2 separate regions of the Homo sapiens genome follow, and region 1 is linked to region 2. The links are contacts of gene promoters, found by promoter capture Hi-C in blood cells and fetal thymus (Javierre and others, 2016). All regions are on one chromosome and are shown on one strand. Each heading gives the region's core, a stretch centred on a gene start or on the middle of the fragment in contact. The rest is flanking DNA. Distances are from core to core; before and after follow the strand shown. Region 1 has its middle 79 kb from the start of TRIM36. Region 2 holds the start of PGGT1B (protein geranylgeranyltransferase type I subunit beta).

What was found. Contacts are between HindIII fragments. The CHiCAGO score rates a contact against its expected background, and 5 or more counts as called.
Region 1: a fragment that was not itself captured here is called in contact with the fragment with the promoter of PGGT1B in region 2 in 3 of 17 cell types (M0 macrophages, M2 macrophages and naive B cells); the score reaches 6.8 in M0 macrophages.

The regions. Positions count from the first base shown.
Region 1 is chr5:115,087,232-115,094,280 of GRCh38, forward strand. No RefSeq gene overlaps it. Among named protein-coding and RNA genes, the nearest start is that of TRIM36, 79 kb to the right of the region's middle. RefSeq lists enhancers at 3,293-3,792, 3,793-4,294. The HindIII fragment of the contact is 3,062 bases long and covers 3,950-7,011 here.
Region 2 is chr5:115,261,185-115,268,225 of GRCh38, forward strand. PGGT1B (protein geranylgeranyltransferase type I subunit beta) reads right to left here and starts at 1,693. Exons shown (of 9, transcript NM_005023.4): 1 at 1,528-1,693. The coding sequence starts at 1,667. CCDC112 (coiled-coil domain containing 112) reads right to left here. Exons shown (of 10, transcript NM_001040440.3): 10 at 6,006-6,734. The coding sequence ends at 6,692. It also overlaps the pseudogene RPS2P26. RefSeq lists enhancers at 1,552-1,731, 1,762-1,811. The HindIII fragment of the contact is 10,345 bases long and covers 1-7,041 here.

The sequences.
Region 1 (7,049 bases), core at 4,231-6,730, 170 kb before region 2:
GATTAGTGCCCTTATTAAAAAAAAGGCCCAAGAGACCTAGATCATTGCTTCCAACATGCAAGTTTACAGTAGAAGTTGCAGTCTGCAACCCGAAGAAGGCCTTTGCCAGAACTCAATTATGCTGGTAACATGATCTCAGATTTCCAGCCCCCAGAACTGTGAGAAATGCATTTCTGTGGTCTGTAAGCCACCCAGTGTGTGGTATTTTGTTATAACAGCCCAAATGGACCAAGATTTGGGCCAAGCCCAAATGGACAACCCCTCTCACCATCACTTCCAGTGAACCACTTATGTATGTTGGGATTCCTCTCCTTACCACTTTAGGTTCTGCAGGGTTAGAAATTTTAGTCTACGGGCATGGAATATACACAACAGAGTTCTACTAAACCTAAAGTTACCACTGCTTCCTGATCATCTGGGGATCCTCTATAGAAGTTAATAGACTAGCAGGCATAACTGATGAGGACTGTGATGAGGAGACATGGTTGCTGCTATATAGTGGGAGCAGGGAGAATGTCAGTGGATCACTGGGGTGCCCGTTAATGCTTCCATAACCTTCCAAGTGCAAGATCACCAGGGAGCCAGACTCAACAGGGAAGAAGGTCTGATCATCCCATTAGGTGAGCAACCTAGACCAGTAGAAACATTAACTAAAGAGGAGGGGATTCCAGAATGAACATTCTGTGAAGGAGAGGATGAATATCCCCACAGCCTGGGAACAACTGCAGCAGCATCCCACCAACCACCCTGCTGTTACATCCTTCCATCAGGGGTATGATTAAGGCCATTTTAAAGAATTAGTGACAGAGTGAACTTAACATGGGCACGTTAATAAGCAATACAAAGGACGTGCTGTGAAAGATGCACTCATGCCCTGCCCATATCCCCTTGACACACCCTGGAGGTCATCTGAAGACAACTCCCTTACTGTCCACTGGCTTCCTGTGCCTCTCAGCCCGCAGGCACTCTCCAGCCCAGGACTGTGCTTGGCTCACACATGGGGCAGGCTGGAAGTACCAGGGAGTTAATGTCTCAGAGACTGTCAACCAGAGCTGAAACTGATAATGACCCAGCTTTCTCACCTCTTGGTGGGAAATGTTGGGATTATTTTCCACAGTTTCTTAGAAGGATCTTAATAAGAGTGAGCTCCAGTCACCCTCAAAAAGTAACCCATTATTAGTGCAGCCTCAATGGCTTTCTTCCTTTTCCTGGCTCACTTCCCCACGTTCACCCACCGCATCCTGTGATCACCTTCCTATTCAACTTCTTACACCCAAATCCTTGACTAAAGTCTACTTTTGGGGGAAACCCAGGTTAAGATAAAAAGACAAAGAAAATTATCATATTTTCCAACTAACAGAATAATATGTGGCCAATGAAAATATGTACATAGAAATACAGAAAGATGCATGGTTTACAATATTAACTGAAAAACAATTGTTTGTCTATTCTAATTACAACCACAAGTAAGTAAAAACAGATCCTTGGGATGGAAATATACAGGGATGATCATCACTTGTTGGGGCTGAGGAAAAACATTTTTTAAGGAGGGAGAAATTAGAGTGTTAAAGTGCCCAGGGTTCAAGTGAGATAAGCGTGACATTACTCCCTGTTATGTTTGGACTTTTGTGCGCAGCATTGTTCTCAGCAGTCACAGATCTGCTGGTTGCAGCAAGATCACCACCATCCTCAGTACTGCCAATTATTTTCCCCAAAGCTGCTCATTTACTCACAAAGGATGGGAAAGCTCAGTTGATTCTGGCTGTGGCTGTAGAAAGCCTAGATTGGAGAAGCCAGACTAGCAATATGCAATGCTCATAAATTAATCCTGGTTTGGAAGAAAAGCTTGACTTACAGGTTTGGATATTCAGTAGCAAAACCCTGTACCCCACAAACTACAATTAAGTATAACCTGTCTTCTGAGTCCAGGGGGACTGAAAGTGACTAAGCCATAAGAATGACCTATATGGCCTCTGGCATTGGAAATTTTCCTTTTACTGAGAAAAAACAGATTAGCATATGCCAATGGCCAGACCATAAATGAAAAAGATTTAATTATTTACCATATAAAAGTATAAAGCATTTGGGGGGAAACTATACTACAAAAAAGAAAGTCAGAGCTGGGTGTGGTGGTGTGCTCCTGTAATCCCAGCTATTTGGGATGCTGAGGCAGGAGGATCACTTGAGCCCAGGAGATAAGAGACCAGCCTGGGCAACACAGGGACACCTTAATCTCAAAAAAAGAAAAACTCAAGAGCTAAACAAGAAACTGGGGGAAAAAAATCTTGCAATATATATGGCAAAGGGTTAATATCCTTAATAAATAAAAAAAGAAGACAGATGGTGAATAATCTTTATTCATCAGTTTCACCAACATATTTGCCCTGAACAGGATTGTCAGCTCTCAGTAGATATCTGGAACTCTATGCTGACTTAGGAGGAAAATTTAAATAGTCTACTGGTAAAAAGAAGTCAGCATTTGTCAGTGACAGTAGAACTGCTAGAAACTAGAGAAATCCAGGAAAAGCATGGCTTCATTTCCATGTTTTCACACTGAGCAAAATGAGGAAAGGAAAGTGTTATATTGGGGCTGAACTGGCACATTTAAAATATAGAACAACTTATAACCCTGTGTTCTGGGGCTTCCTGAAAGTTAACAAAGATCTAGCAAGCTACAGGGGAAATAAATAATAGGAGAATCATTCAATAACAGCTCTGTCTTTAATAAAGCTAATGTTTTGACAATTTTATAATGTTTGTATGGTTTTTGTTTTGTGGTAAGCTCAGAAGTAATCACAAAATATAATATGAAAGCATTATTATGATAAAAATAAAAACAACAAAAACAGATTGAACTAAGAGCAAAGGAAATCAATTCAATACCTTGCATTTCTCAAGGACTGATAGCTACACAGAGGGAGATAGCTACCAATACTGTAATTTGAGGGGCCCTAGAAAGGCTCCAGTGGAGATAATTCCTCTCATTTCCTCCTCTGAAATTCAGCCTTTGAAATTTAATTCGTTAAGATCTCAAACGCCTTTGGTTTCTTATGCTAATAAGGACAAGGATATCAGCCTAAAGTCATTTCCAACTATCACCCTTTCAAGGCCCCAGTGGAAAGAGAATTGAGACTAGAAAATGAGGTGAGAACCCTAAAAAGGGGAAACCTGGGAGGAGGCAAATACACATTTCTAACCATTCTAGTTGTACCAAGGTCAACATATCTCCCAGGCACACACATCACACAGGGACATCTGAAAGGGAGAGAACTGACAAGGAAACCTGCATAGATTCTAGAGCAGGTGCTCGCTAAGGTGTAACTTGCTGGCTTAGAAGGTACTGGCAAAGACACAGGGTTGCAGACATCGACTTCTTAGCAGATATCCTCCCACTCACTGCCTCAGCCTTCAGGGCTTCTTCAGAATTTCACAAATGCACCTTTGTTGTTGTTGTTGTTGTTGTTGTTGTTGTTATTGTTGTTGTGACAGATATTTGCTCTGTTGCCCAGGGTGGAGTGCGATGGTACTGGCTCAGCTCACTGCAACCTCCTCCTCACAGGTTCAAGCAATTCTCCTGCCTCAGCCTCCCAAGTAGCCAGGATTACAGGGGCCCACGACCATGCCTGGCTAATTTTTGTATTTTTAGTAGAGACGGGGTTTCACCATGTTGGCCAGGCTGGTCTGGAACTCCTGACCTCTGGTTATCCACCTGCCTCAGCCTCCCAACTTGAGCCACCGCACCTGGCCACAAATGCACCATTTCAAAGGAGTTTCCCCCAAGATGAATAATTGCCCCAGCGGTGGGCTTCCAACTTCCCTGCAGCCATGCCTGCCCTCTGCATTTGCATATCTTGCTGGGTTTTCACAACAAAAAGAGTTGGTCACAGGTGAATCAGCAGCTCAAGAAAAGCACAAATATTTTTCTGAGAAAATAAAATAAAAAGCTAAAAGCTTGCAAAGCCACCAGATGCTGAATACCTCAGAAAAAGAATTGCTTTGTAATACTGCTTTGAAAGGAGCTTTCTAAGCAGATGAGGTTCTCCCTCCTTCTAAACCACCTCCCAGCAAACCAGATATTCAGGTCATTCTCATTACTTTCTGGGGGTATCTCCATAGTTTAGAAGGCAAGATCACAAATTTTTTTTTTTTTTCCTGAGACAGGGAGCTCTGTTGCCCAGGCTGGAGCGCAGTGGCAGGATCACCACTCACTGCTGCCTCAGGCTCCCAGGCTCAAGCAATTCTTCCATCTCACCCCTATGAGAAGCTGAGACTACAGGCATGCCACCTTGCCTGGCTAATTTTTTTTTTAATAGAGATGGGACTCTCCTTATGTTGCCCAGGCTTGTCTCAAACTCTTGGACTCAAGAGATCCTCCTGCATCAGCCTCCCAAAGTGCTGAGATTACAGGCATGAGCCCCCATGCCTAGCCATAAGGTCACTAAGTTCCAAAGAAAACTAACATTTCTTTAGCACTTACCAATGTCAGGCACTATGAAAGTGACTTTCATGCATTTAATCCTTAATTCACCTCTATTTTGGGTATGAGAATAATTATCCCTGTTTTACAAATGTAGGAACTGGTACTTATAGAGCTCAAACCTATGCTCAAAGTCAGCAACTGAGGCAGAGCCAGACAGCAAAGTAAAAAGAAAAGCCTGCTGACACTACAGCTAGAGCCCTTCCCCTTCTGCACTGTACTCTCAGATTCACAAATATGGGGAAAAAAATGCACCTAAACTTGGCCAAGATCTACAAAGGTCAATTGAATAAAGGAGCTAGAAATACTTGGGTGAGCTTTACTGGGGAAAGGGGGGAGGGAAGTAAAAAGTGGCTCCTCCACTACTTAAATAGTGTCAGTACAGTAATTCATGAAGCAGGTACTTACGAGCTCATGCTGTGTGCTAGACAGTGTTCTGAGCACGGGAGATGGACTAGAGGGGGACAAATCAAATCCCTAACCTCATGGAGTTTAGATTGATAATGAAGACCTACAACATTGCAGCTGGCAGTGAGAGACAGGACTAGCTGGATTTCCTAGGCCAACTAAGAATCCCTAAGCCTAGCTGGGAAGGTGACCACATCTACCTTGAAACACAGGGCTTGCAACTTGGCTCACACCTGACCAATCAGCTAGTAAAGACAGCTCACTAAAAGGCTAATTCGGCTAAAACAGGAGGTAAATAAATAGCCAATCATCTATCACCTGAGAGCAGAGGGGGATGGATAATGATCGGGATACAACCCCAGGCATTCCAGCCAGCAATGTCAACGCCCTTAGGGTCCCCTCCCACTGTATGGGAGCTCTGTTTTCACTCTATTAAATCTTGCAACTGCACACTCTCTGGTCTGTGTTTATTCCCGTTCGAATTGAGCTTTTCCTCACCATCCACCACTGCTGATAGCTGTCGTTGCAGACACCGCTGCTGACTTCCACCCCTCCGGATCTGGCAGGGTGTCTGCTGCACTTCTGATCCAGCGAGGCGGCACCCAATTGGGCTAGAGGCTCCCCATTGTTCCTGCCTGGGGTTTGTCCTAATCGAGCTGAATAGAGCTATAACACTCACTGCATGGCCCAAGATTCCATTCCTTGGAATCCATGAGGCCAAGAACCCCAGGTCAGAGAACAAGAGGCTTGCCACCATCTTGGAAGCCGCCCACCACCTTCTTGGAAGCAGCCCACCACCATCCTGGGAGCTCTAAGAACGAGGACACCCCGGTAACAGCAGCATGGGCTATGAAGAAAAACAAGGAAAAGTGGTGTGATTTTGGAAAGGGTGGCCAGGGAAAGCCTCTCTGAGGAGAAGACACTTGAGCAAGAGGCCTACCTGAAGCAAAGGAGTCAGCCATCCACAGGGCTGAGGGAAGAGTTTAGGCTGAGGCACCGTAAGTGCAAAAGCTCTGAGGAGTTCATCTGACTTGTTCCAGGAACAGCCAGGCCAGTGAGTCAGGATATCCATGAGTGAGGAAGACTGGTAGGAGAGGAGGTCAGAGAACCAGCTATGGGACAGGTAATAGGACTGTGTTTCTCAAATTTTAGCCGGTCTCAGTCTCACTAGCATACCCTGTGTGTGAAAACTCATTTTGCTGGCTACCCCTAGAGTTTCTGCCTCAATAGGTGGGGCCTGCGAATTTGCATTTCTAACAAGTTCCCAAGTGATACTGATCCTGCTGGCCTGGGGACCGCAGTATGGCAGCCTTCCAAGTCCTGATAAGACTTTGAATTATGTTCTAAATGTGACTGGAAGCACTGGAAGATTCTGAGCAGAGGATGAAGAAAAGTTATAATGGGACAAGGGTAGAAGCACGGAACCAGAATGGAAGCCATTACAAGAGTTCAGGCAAGAAATAGTGATGGTCTAGAATGAGAGCAGCTGTGTTGGAAAGTGGGGAAATGGTCGGACTCAGACTTTCTGAAGGTAGTACTGATGCACTTGTTCATGGACCTATGTGACATGAGAGGCAAAGAGAAATCAAGAGGTGAGTCCTAGGCTGTAGACTGACCTACTGAATGGAAGCATTTGCTAAAATGGGAAGATAATTTTGGAATTGGGTTTCATTTTGAACACAATTACTTTGAGATTCCCATTAGACATCCAAGTGGGGTAGTGAGTGGGCAGATAAATTACACGTCTCAAGCCTTGGGAGACGTCCAGGACAGAGGTATAAATTTGAAAGGTATATTTTTATAACCAATAGGTACAATAATAGGGCTAGATGAGATCATGAGAGAGTGAGTGCAAATGCTCACTCTCTCTTGGCCCAAATACTGAGCCCTGAGGCACACAGAGTAGACAGAGAAGGAACAGCCTATGAAATAGGAAAAACCCAGGAGAATAGGAAGAAGCTGTGGAAATCAACAGAAAAGGTGTTTCCATAAGAAGGTCATAACCCAATGCTGATAGAGTTGGAGTAAAAGGAGGACCAAGATGTGACCACTGGAATTGGCAACCTGCACCTGGAAACATTTTGGTGAATTAGTGGCCAGAGCTGGATTTACCATAAGGCTAATGAAGCTTAATTTCAAGGCCCCTCACTTACACAGGAGCATC
Region 2 (7,041 bases), core at 443-2,942:
TCTCATATCACTACAATCATAACCTTTCGGTTTGGAAATCTGAATCTTTCAGTGAAGGTATAGGCTCTGCTAATCGATCAACACCTATGAGAGGAGGAAGGAATATAAACGTTTCACTCTTTCTTTTGTGAGAATCTGTTCATCCTTCAGGGCTCAGCTCACATTATTCAACAAATATTTCTTAGTGCTTCTCAGATACCAGGTACTATTTAAGGTCCTAGTGCAATGTTGACCAAAAGGACTAAGCTGTTGCAAATGTTGAAATAGAAACAATTGCCACTGGCCAATATGGCAACTGGGTACTTGAAATGTGGTGGCTACTACCAAAAGAATCACTTAATTTTTAATTTGATTTAATTAATTCAAATCAAAATAGCCAAATGTGGCTAGTGGCTACCAGATTGGACAGGGCAGCCCAGTCCTAAGTATAGAGGTAAACAAGATAGACGAAAATGTTACCTTTGTGAAGTTTATAATCCAGTGTAATAGAAAGACATTAAACAAATAAACCAATACATACGTAATGTGAGGTGGTCATTGGAAGTGGTCCCTTTAGGAAGGGTGTTTAAGGAAGGCCTCTCTAAAGATATCTGGATTATGTACATGCCTGTCTATATACTCCTATGAACACTACACTAACATATAGCACAGAACTCTATACAAATGCTTGTCTTGTTCAGCTGTACTCTGGCACCTACCATAATGTGGTTCTTGACCAAGTGTGCAGAAGTAATCTGCAAAGCTCCCCAAACTGATCCGGTCATGCAGTGTTCAAAATACACCAGCAACTCAGAATTTGGAAAACGTGGGGAAAGAACACAGCAAAAACAAGCCGCTCTTTCCTCCCATCCAGTCTCAAGCAGCTTTTGAGCTTCACTTCAAAACACAGCAATGCGGAGCAAAGATTGCCTTCTCCTTTCTTTCTTCTCATCCCCAGCTTTTACTGTAAATGAAGTCGCTTAGTCTCTGCCGCACCACACTCTTCAGCTATTGCGATACTTTTAACAGGCTGCTTCACGCAACACCACACCTCTTTCGCCTACCATTAGATTTATAGTTCCCACAAAGTTTCTAAGACCTTAGAGGTTCTCTGCCGCTCCTACACATAAAACACCATACAGACACTCTATTAAGAGTTAATGACTTTAGAGAGGACAAGGATGCACAGAAGTATTCATCTAAAAATACGACGACAAACTTTGTCCTTTTCCTTTTACACTCGGAAGTAATGAGGCAAAGTGACAGGCTATGGGAGCGGGTAAAAAAGCAGCTCAGAGTTGCCAGAAGAAAAGGGAAGTGAAAAAGCCGGAAACTGGAGATGCCACAGCCCTCGACCTACAGCCTTCCAGACCTTCCCACCGTACGGCGGGAGAGTGGGGGTAACCTCAAGCCCACTTGAAACCAGTCAGTGCCAACTGGGCGGCCGCGCAGCCCCCTTCCGGCGCCCAGTTTGCGGTCCGACTCCGCCGCGCCTTTCCGCTGGAGCCCGGGCCTTGTGCCAGCCTGGCTGACTGTGCCACGAGTTACCTGCTTGTCTCGAGTGAAGAATAGCGCTCCGGCAAAACCTGGAGGCAGCGCTGGAAAAATCGCACGTGCCGATCCCGTAAGAAATCCAGCCGCTCTCCCTCACCGCTCCCTGCTAGCCTCTCATCCTCAGTGGCCGCCATGCTGCTCCGGAAGCGACGTCCGCCGCGACCCGGAATCAGTGCCCGCGGAGAGAAAGAACCCTCCTGTGCTGAACCACAGGGTGCCGGGTGAGGGGACCTGCGCCCGCCGCAGACTAAGCCAGTATTTGAAACCGCTATCATCTGGGTCCTGTGCAGCACTTCCTCTCTCCGATATCTCCCTAGCTAGCGCATGACCCTACCTTTTCTACTCAAAGCCCTCGAGGCTTGTAAACACCTCGCAGGCCTTGTGAAAATCAAGTCCACAAATCCCTCCGTCAGAATTTTTATCTTGGGAAGCGCAAGGTCAAAAGCATCAAGTACGCTTTGAGACAATTCTGGCTCTGTAGAACCTGAGGATGGTATATCTGAAAACGAGGATGGATCAGTATAAACTTGCTAACAGATTCATTTTTGGAGGGCCAGTTTTAAGCCGAACGGTTAGGGAAACAGAAAAACAAACCAGTGGAGATAAATGTTTATTGACACTACAAAAGCTCAGAGACTTTCCTAATCTTAATCCTTTCTGGATACCAGGAATCACTTAAAAATCTGTGTATAATGCCCCCAAACATATACAACATGCATATTCATACCTATATATGACTGCTTGCGTCATTCTTTTACAAATCTTACAGATTTTACTTTGCTTGAGTCGACGTGTTATCAAGAATCAATGGTGCATCAATCTGCAACAGCAAAATAAGCTCAATATCTTCTCCAATTACCTGCATTCTAAAAAATTTAAACATGCTTCTAGTTCTTTTTTCCAAAAATAGGGATTTAAGTTGTTTAGCCGGTATACTATGCCCTTTAAACTTTCATGAGGCATTCCTGAGTAGCGGGTGGGGGGATCCACCCAATAATATAACTAAACTAGGTTCCCTGTGATCAACTTAGCTAATAAAATTTTGGGTTTAATTTTGTTAGCTTTCTTAGAAAATGTAATTCTTATACTCTATGGGCTGGGGTAATCTTACACTTATTCAACAATCCAAAGTGCTCTGAATAATTTTTGGTACTATTAACTACTTATTCACAGGTATTCCTGCATGTCTTTACAAAATGCCGCATTTAACAGCCACAGACGGATTCTAGGCTGTCCTCGGTACTTCCCTACAAATACGGAGCTCACAGTCCTTGCCCTTCAGGTGTGCCCAGTCTGGAGTTTCCACTGTTATTAAAATTAAGATCTCTCACTTAGCACACATACCCCCAAATGCCTGAAGATTTTTAAAGTGGAGTCTTATACACATTTAACTTACTGGAATCAGCTATGGACACTCTATACATTCTCAGAAAATTAATTCTAATAAACATGGCCCTTAAGTTAGGGAAGCCAAATGTTTCATCTGATTCTCAGCTCAAGGACTAGCAATCTGATCCAAATCTAGAGGAAAAATTTGCAATGTGGGACTCATTCAGAGATAATACAGAATGCCTCCTAGGTCGGTAAAAGGCTTTCCATGAGTGATTTTATCCCTACAAGATTTTTGGCATGTGCATAACAGAATGGGAATGATAGAACATCTATATAATTGAGTGTTATTTAGCCATTACATGATAATGTTTGAATTAGGTAGAAATGTACGAAAATGTGTAATGCAATTATAGCATAGTAATTAATATGTACTGTATGACTGTAACAATTTAAAAATATGTAGGTATGTTTTTTGAAAAAGTTACCCTGGAATTATGGGTACTTTATAACATTTCTTCTTTAGTGTTTTTTCTATGTTTCTTATTAATGTAGTTTTTTTGTTTCCAGGCTTACTTCATTTTATTTTTCTTGTACAACCCGATGTTGTAGCCACCGCTGGAGCCTGGGTCCTCTGCACGGAGACTCTGGTGTGGGTCTTGAGGAGGTGGTCAGTGAATTCCTGATAGGGAGACTTGGTGAATACAGTCTCCTTCCAGAGGTCAGGGTTCAGCCTGCTGTAGACCTTAGAGATGGCATAAAAAATGACCATGACGAAGTTGCCCAGGATGGCAGTGCAGCCCCTGGCTGAGGTGTAGCAGTCATTGATAGCTGCCATCAGCAGCAGCTTCTTGGCCATGGGGGCCGAGACGATGCCAGTGCTCCTGGGCGCAGGGATGACCCGCGCCAGCACAGAGCCGTGGCAGCCTGTCACCTTGCAAGGGATGGTGTGGGGCTTGCCGATCTTGTTCCCCCAGTAGCCTCTGCGCATGGGCACAACGGAGAGCTTGGCCAGGATGATGGCCCCGCAGATGGCAGTGGCCACCTCCTTGGAGCACTTAACACCCAGATCAGTGTGGCCACTGTCCCTGATGGCAACAAACGCCTTGAACCTGGTGTTCTGGCCGGTGCAGGTCTGCTTCTGCACTGGCACGTCTTCAAAACCTCCTTCTTGAGAGAGGCCCCAGGAAAAAGTCAATGATCACAGACTCCTTGATGGGCAGAGAGAAGAGATAGATCTACTCCAGGGACTTAATCTTCATGTCCTTGACCAGGCAGCCCAGCTTGGTGACAACCATCTACTCCTTGTCCTTGGTCTTGCCTCCACGAGCTCTGCAGCTGGCCCCGGCCCCGTCCATGGCCGCGACACGAGTTCCCCATCCCAGGGCCGGCTGAGACCCCAGTTCCCCATCCCAGAGCCCCCCGGGCCTCCGGGCCTCCCAGGTCCCCCGCTGCACCGGCATCATCCGCGATTTGGTGTTTTCTCAGAGAAAAAGCTAATGTACTTTTTAAACCAGTATAAGAAATATTTATTTGACATCTTGTTTATGAACCTGTAACTTCTATGAAGTCTGTAACTGAAGATATTTGTTTATCTTACATCTTTTATATAAAGGATCTATATAATAAATTCATCATTTATTTCAGATTCAGCTAGAAAAACTGATTTCTTCAGAGGAACTTCCATACTTTTCTTTATTTAAAAAAAAAATAAAAAAACAAAGCCATAAGAATCACATCATCCAGAATGCTTACCTTGGATACAGGAATTTGAAAGCTGCATTTCGGTGCAACAAAAAGCAACACGTAAAAAAGCAATATGTAAGAAACATTTTCTGTATCTTGTAGCTTCTCAGTTCTGCTTTTAATTTCCTCATCTTGCTCTGTGTTTTATTTATGTATTTATTTTTTGAGATGGAGTCTCACTCTGTTGCCCAGGCTGGAGTACAGTGGCACAATCTCAGCTCACTGCAACCTCCGCCTCCCGGGTTCAAGCGATTCTCCTGCCTCAGCCTCCCAAGTAGCTGGGAGTACAGGCGTGAACTACCACACCAGGCTAATTTTTGTATTTTTAGTAGAGATGGGGTTTTACCATGTTGGCCAGGCTGGTCTTGAATTCCTGACCTCAAGTGATACGCCCACCTTGGCCTCCCAAAGTGCTGGGATTACAAGCCTGAGCCACTGCACCCAGCCTCTATATTTTATCTCTGAACTACTTCAAATCATTACAAAAAAGTTTTGGATAACAAAATCAGCACTCCTGTTTAAGGATCTTTTATGTCAATTTTCTCATTCTGCACCAATAACTGTACAAATCAGAATTCAGTTTCTAAAATTTGGAAGCCATCTATTTTGAATATTAACTGTAAAATAAGAAAAGATTTTCACCGCTACTCATAGTACCTTTCTAACTGAGTCATTTAACCTAAATGCATCCCATTAACAATGAAAGATAAAGATAAACAATGAAAGATTAAGATAAAAAAAGATTTATAAGAGATAAATTTCCTGTGTTTTTATGTATATAGTATCTTTCCTATGAGAACAAATTAAATAACGTTAGAAAGGAATATTTTATAATATGAAAAGTTGAACTGTATTCAATTACATTGTGTTTTCATGTCTAAAAGTTTAGAAATTTAAGAACTAACTCTTGCCCAAATATGTTAATCTAACAGCTTTAAAAGATCTTATTCATTCATTCCTTCATTCATTCATTTTAGAGACAGGGTCTCTCTCTCACCCAGGCTGGAGTAGAGTGGTGCCATCGTAGCTCACTGCAACCTGGAACTCCTGGGTTCAAGTGATCCTCCCACCTTATCCTCCCAAGTAGCTGGGACTACAGGTGTGTGCCACCATACCCAGTTAATTAAACTTTTTTTTTTTTTTTCTGTAGAGACAGGGTCTCCCTGTGTTGCCCAGGCTAGTGTCAAACTCCAGGCCTCAATTCTCCTACCTTGACCTCTGAAAGTGCTGGGATTACAAGCATGAGCCACCATGCCCCACCTAAAACATTTTAAGTGCCATCAAGAGAAATCACAGTATTTTAAAGCTGGCTTATTTCAGATGATGTTTCAGAACAAAGAATTTTCCTATTTTGAGGCAAACAGAAGCAGAAAAGAAAACTGCATTAGCCAGGAAGATGTGAAAGACACAAAGATTTTATAAATCTGTGAAATCCAGAAAGGCTGAAGGAAAATTTGGAATTGCTGAAGGAAACCAAAAAGATTATATCAATAATACAATTAATAGGGTATATGAGAGACATATTTTTAAAATAAATATTCTCTATATAAAACAAAGCATGCTTCAAACAAATACAAAATATTTATTACACAAAAATGTCATAACTGACAAACTGCCAATTTGTTAAACATAGAAAAAGTACTAACATTTCGTAACTCTAAACAAAAACCACTTTACCTTTTTGTTACTCAAGCTAACTTAACTCCAAGTTATAAAAGTTACAAAATTTTGGTTTAAAAAATGTCATTGTATGATTGTTCCAATTTACTTTGCTATGCTATAACAAAAACAAAATCTCTTTGAAATGTTTTCAGTATTTAAATTGAATAATGTTTCTAACATTAACTTATTTAAATAACTTTTACATCAATAATAGGCCAACACATATATTAAATACCTTCTTGGTAGAAGCAGGAATACTAATGACAAAGCCTCATGAAACTTAATACCTCTCAATTCACAATATAGCACAATAATCAATCTGACTAAGCTATTGATATTTAAAGAATGTGGTTAGTCACTCTCTCCCTGGTATAACTTAGTATGTTAACATTCTTATCAACTGAGTAGCAATTTGATTATCTCATACTCTTCTCTGTATTCCTTGTCTCCAGGTTGGAATAGCCCTAAGGAGAAAAAGAGAAAAGCAATTGTAAATATGTAGGAAATTAAAAAGAAAAAAACCCTATCTGATTAAGTGCTAACTTTAAAATATATATATAACCTACCCTGCATGTTGTTTGGCTGGTTCATATGGGCATGTAGGTTTGCAACCCTCATTAAGGTTTTATTTCTAGCTCTAGCTCTCAAACTGATTGACAGACAAACCAATCAGTTAATCTACTTATTAATCTATCGATCTTTCATTCATTCTTTTTCAATACTACTCTCCTTATAAAAATAAATATTAATGTGAAAAAGGCAGAAAATGGC